2 separate regions of the Homo sapiens genome follow, and region 2 is linked to region 1. Evidence: promoter capture Hi-C in 16 types of primary human blood cells and fetal thymus (Javierre and others, 2016). All regions are on one chromosome and are shown on one strand. The core of a region is centred on a gene start or on the middle of the fragment in contact, and the rest is flanking DNA. Distances in the headings are between cores, read along the strand shown.

Evidence for each region. Contacts are between HindIII fragments. The CHiCAGO score rates a contact against its expected background, and 5 or more counts as called.
Region 2: a contact is called between a fragment that was not itself captured here and the fragment with the promoter of SHROOM3 in region 1, in 1 of 17 cell types (naive CD8 T cells). The highest score is 6.0, in naive CD8 T cells.

The regions. Positions count from the first base shown.
Region 1 is chr4:76,433,862-76,436,767 of GRCh38, forward strand. SHROOM3 (shroom family member 3) reads left to right here and starts at 1,368. Exons shown (of 11, transcript NM_020859.4): 1 at 1,368-2,359. The coding sequence starts at 2,192. The HindIII fragment of the contact is 11,529 bases long and covers 1-2,906 here.
Region 2 is chr4:77,227,124-77,229,942 of GRCh38, forward strand. No RefSeq gene overlaps it. Among named protein-coding and RNA genes, the nearest start is that of CCNG2, 71 kb to the left of the region's middle. The HindIII fragment of the contact is 1,880 bases long and covers 544-2,423 here.

The DNA.
Region 1 (2,906 bases), core at 118-2,617:
ATGCCTCCTAACTGAAATTTTGTATAGCTATGTTACTTTTAATATTAAATGTGGATTCTGTAAAATCCCAGTTTTTACAAAATGTATTAGGAGTAACATAATAAGAGCCTCATAAATTAATTTTTTCAGAAAGAAAGCTGTTCATTTACCTAGGACTTTTATTTAAAATACATATGTTCTTTGAAATGAAAGAAAAGCTAATGTTTCTCCATTTATTCTAACTTACAAATTAAGCTGTAAAAGAAAACCACAATAGAAATTGCGTAAATTACCCTTAAGAATCAGCCAATTTTTACCACATACTTTCATTTGGTACACCTTAGGTTTCCTTATGTTTCCATTCACATACTACCATTACATAAGGTTTTACTTTTTTTTTTTTTTTTTTGTCTTTGAGCCCTTCAAGTGAAGTTACCATTGAAAATCAAACAATACCTGTCCAGTGTTGTAAATTAAATATCGTGTAGTTTGATATCATATACCTGCCTTTCCATATCAGCCTTTCATTAATTATAAGTACAAACACCAAAATAATTGTTATCAAGCCCCACAGTAGTTTTTAACTTCAGTTTTCAACTTAATTCTCATTATCCCATACTTTTAAACAGAAAAAAGTTTTAGTACATATATTACCTGGAAGTAATTCTAATCTGTTCCAATAACTAAATAGCTGAGGCTTCTGGGTTAGATATGGTTATCTTCTACTGTTCAAATTTTTAATACAAAGCATGAATGTTAAATTTGTATATAACATTATTACAAAATGACACTGGTAACATGAAATCAGAACAACATTCTTTCCCGAGTACCTAGTACTTACCCACAAGGCATTGTAGATTTCTTTTCATTTAAAGAGTGGATAACAATCTTGGAGTAGATAACAATGAAAACCTAGAAAAAAAAACCCACCTCCTGTTTTTATTGAGTCAAACAAGCAGAACTTTGATTGGAAAGTCCCATTTCATATATTACACTGGTAGTATTTTCTTCTAACGAAAAAAAAAAAGCCCTTGTGCCACCACCTTGACATGTACTTAAACGTTTACCCAAATCACTTAGGCATTGCTTCTCAAACTTGGCTGCATAGCAGAATTGCCTGGAGGGTTTTTAAAAACACAAATGCCTATGTCTCACTCCCTGAAATTCTCCTTTAATTGGTACGAGGCGGGGCTATTCTAGGAACTATTTTCTATCCCTTGGCAATTAGCCATCTGTATAGTATTTTTAACTTCCTACGTGTTATTAACTGTAAGACTGTTTGAATTGTCAGGTCTTTGTGGTGAGCTGAATTCTGCATGGCAGTGCTTACTGTGCAGAAAGGTTGCAATGCCTCACTTTGCCTTAATCCATGTTCCTCTAACTTCCTTACTCTTTCTCTCAAGAGGAGGCAAGTGGCTGTGGCGGCCGCAGCAGTGGCTGATCATCACTGAAAATACCAAAGAAAAGAACTGAGCTGCCTCCTTCATATTTTTTCCATTGAGGATTAATTTACCGTGCTTTTTCATTTTCTCTACATCCTGCAAAAGTTTTTTTCTCTCCTAAGAAACAAACTATGAACTGATTGTTGAAAAAAAGAAGTAAAAAGTTTTAGCACAGCTTCTCTGTCTCTTCGGGACAAGTTAGAAAATTCTGAAGTGAGCCGAAGCATAGTAAGTGCTTTCTTTCTTTTTAAGCTACTTCTGGGGAGGGAGGAGGCTATTGTAATGGTAAATTTCACTCCGAGAGGAAGAAAGGGTTGATAATCAATCAAAAATGAGGTATTCCTTTGAGTATTTGTGATTTTCTTACTATATTGTAAGATGCTTTTAATTTTCTCTGTAAAATAGGCAGAAATGGTTTTAGTGTGTGTATGTGTGAAATAAAAGCTCAGAAAAGCAATCTTCAGAGCGCCACTGAAGGAAGTTTTGACGAACGGAGTAGAGATGTATACCACTTGGGGGCTTCAGTGAGAACCCAGAATTCCTGGAGGAGGATTTACATTCAGAAATGTTGAAGTGAAAATTCCTTCTGGTTCAGCATCTTGGAGTTCAGCTTGGAAGAACATTTTACGTATGGAAGAATTTGCTTCTCCAAACCTCTCTTTTGGCCATTGTGTGTCCTGAAGGATGGGACAACTTGTGCTGTAGAAGCACTGCTTGCCTGAGTTTGCTTCAGGCATTTTAAATTTAACTTGAGGGATCATGTGTTTGGCATGATGAGGACCACTGAAGACTTCCACAAGCCTAGTGCCACATTAAACTCTAACACGGCCACCAAGGGAAGGTACATTTATCTGGAGGCATTCCTGGAGGGAGGAGCTCCCTGGGGTTTTACTCTAAAGGGTGGCCTGGAGCACGGAGAACCATTAATCATCTCTAAGGTATGTTTCTTTTTCCAATATTGCCTTTATTCAAATTGTTTTTTTCAACTTGTCAGATTTGTCAAAAATGCAAAATAATGAGAACTGCCTTAATATAACTTAATTTGCTGTTTCATGCCTTTCTGATTATCTAGAAATATTTTGGATAGCCTGGGATTTGAAAGAAAAATGTGTCTAGCTCATTTATTCTATGAAATCCGAAGAAAAATATGCCTGTTTGATGGATAATCTTCTCTTTTTGTGAATGAAATCGCATACAATCAGTTACCACATGAGCTTTTCAGTTATAAATCAGATTAAAGATTAATAACATGGTTAAGATGGTGGCATGGTATATATTTGTGCATTCAAAAATATCTGCTTTTTCTCTCTTCAACTGAAAATAGCATCTAAAAATATTTTAAGTTTGCTTATAATTCTGGATAATAGATTGCATAAATACCATGTGTTGCTTTTTTTCCCCACACTCAGAAAGGAGAATTAAATCAGCTTTCAGCATAACTCAAGATCAAAACATTTCTGCCTCTCCTATTTATCTGTATATTTG
Region 2 (2,819 bases), core at 234-2,733, 790 kb after region 1:
TGTTGGCCAGGGTGAGTACTTGGGTTTCTCAGGTGATGGGTGGGGCCATAGAGCTCCCAAGAGTTTCTTTGGTTATCACAGCAGGTAGGAAAAAAATCAGGTGGGGTCATGGCTAGGTGAGTCTGAGCTCAGACTCCTGGGGTGGGGCTTGCTGCAGCCACTGTGGGAGGGGATAGGGGGTGGTTTTCAGGCCAATGGATCTGTTTCTGGGGGGATTATGGCTGCCTCTGCTGTGTCATACAGGTTTCCAGGGAAGTGGGGGAAAGCTGGTAGTGACAGGCCTCACCCAGCTGCTATGTAGCCGGCAAGGCCATTCTGGCTCCTGCTGTGCCCTGCCAACAGCACTGAGTTTATATCCAGGCAGCGGGTGTGCAGGGCTGAGATCTTGCCTCAGGCTATAAGCCTTTACACTGAGAAAGCAGGGCTCTCAGGCAGCTCATGAACCAATGGCTGTAGCTTCTACTTGTATCTGCACTGCCTGTTTAACTCCCTGGATTCTGCTCAGGAAAATTTATGCTTAATTTAGTACAAACTTCAGCTAGAAGCTTCCTTCACCTTGTGGCCCCTCTCCAATTTCACTGGCTGCCTTCCCCAAGGACCCCTGTGAGAGGGCCAGGAAATGGCTTCCCTGGGCCTGAGCTGGGGATTGGGAGTGCCTATAGGGCTCTTCTAGTTGCTGCTTCTACTTACGTATTTCACTCCACTCCCTAGATGAGTTTCAGCTCTAGGTAAGGTTAAATCCTCCTCCTGTGATCTGGGTTTTCATGTTCCTCAGTGGGGATGTGTGTTTGAAAGCAGGCTTCTCCCCCTCTCACACTTTTGGGAGCTCAGTTTTTTGGCTGTCTCATGGATTTTGCAGCAGCAAGCTGCTTCTTTCAAAGGGTCTGAATTGTTTTCCTGGTATGTTCCTGCAGTGGCTCTTGGAGTAAAAGCCCATGATGTGAGTCTCCACACTGTTCTTTCTGTCCAAGTGGGAGTTGCACATTAGTTCTGTCTCTTGGCATTTTCTTCTAAAATCCTACAATATGGTTTTTAGATTGGCTGAGAGTAAACCATTCTTATGCCACCTGGAGGAAACTAGTCTCATAGCATGATCCACAGGGGAGGGCAGAGTAAAATCAGCTGTGGGAGTAGACAGCCTCAATATAGGGATCCCAGCCAGATCTGGGGCAGCTGCCATGGATGTGGGACATTTCAGTCCCCAGAGTAGGAAGGACCTTGGGATGGCAGGCTCAACTCTCTACCTCCCTCTGAGGGGAAGACTCAAGCTGGGGAACCCCTAGGGGATGAAGGTTGAGATGATCCACATGAAGTACCCATCAACCATGGGCAGTGTCTGTGCAGAATGTATCCAGGGTGGTGTCTTAATCTTTGATTCTGGATGTAGAATGTCTTAAACTGCTTGTCGTTGTAAAACGGAGGTATATTTGACTGGTTAATTGCCAGATGACTAAAACCTTACTTTTTACTTCATTTTGGAGACTTTGAAGGCCTGATTCAGAGTTGAAGGCTCAGAGTTGAAAGAAACGTGGTAGACTTACAGTAGACTTCCCTCACACCCCAGGTAGCTCCCTCTTCATGTCAGGTGTGTTAAATGAGGCTTGTATACTTGTATGCCTACCATGTGACAGAAGCTGTGATTTACTCCTAACTCTCATCTTATTGCTAAAGACTTGGCTGGAGAAAAGCTAATATGCCTGCACGACATTCTTGTTCCCTTTCCTAGGAAAAGGCACCTAGACCTTACAGCAACAGGCCAGGATGGCATGGTCCTGGTGGAGTGGGAGCAGAAGCATAGAAGCACTTAAAGTACATCCCCCATGAGTATTCACTGTTCCCTGCCCAGGTAGTCTTAGGACCTCCTGAGTCCCATGTCCTGCCTGGGCCCATCTGTGAGGTGGGGGAGATGCATCTTCACTAGATGAAGGGCACAGCTAGATTTAGGATCTTGGCTTTTCTTCAGATATTATCCTCCAGGTTTCCTGATATACCTTGGAGCCAAGACTTGATAGGTGGGGATTCCACTCCAATCCATACCACAGACTAATTGTCTGAGGGAATTCTGTGTACTAGATACAGACTGAAAAGAGTTGGATTCCATTTACCTCTTCACCTGCCTCCACCCATTAACATAGATTAATCTCTCCTGAAACTTCTGTAGACCACTGCCACCCATGCCTCTGGGCTTGGTCAGTCATCCTCACATCTGCTACAATGGGCCACCTTCTAGAGCTGCTGGCCAATTTGGGAATTTTTAGATATGGTTCATGTTTTTTCACCCTACATTGCTTTAGGGTTGGGGCTTCTTACTATGCTTTAGGTTTCAGCTCAGAAGTTACTGTCTCACCTTCGGTCATCTTCCTTCATGGCTGGTCACCCTATGTGCTCCCCAAGATGCTCAGAAACTTAATGGTGTGGCTCCAAGCTTCAGACACCGACTTGTACTTGCTGAGCCTAGCAGAGTGGGAGGGGAAGCTGGGCACTAGGTTACATTCTCATTAGTCTTGCCAAGGATTTTGGACATGACCTGACATGTAGTAGGGAAGCTGTTAAGAATTACAGGTGATTTGCAGGTGTTTGTCATCAGACTTAATTTTATAAACTTGCCATTCTAGAAAACAAAGATGTCAGGAATCATGGGCAGGGGAAGCCATTTTGAGTGTCCAAGTCTTGGTGAGAAATGGAATAGGGTGGCAGGATTGGAAATGCAAAAAACATTTGAAGGACACAAGAGATGTAATCAATAGGATTTGGTGGCTCCTGAAATCCTTACCGGGAATATGGGTAAACATAAAGACAGCATAATGGAGGGGATCTAG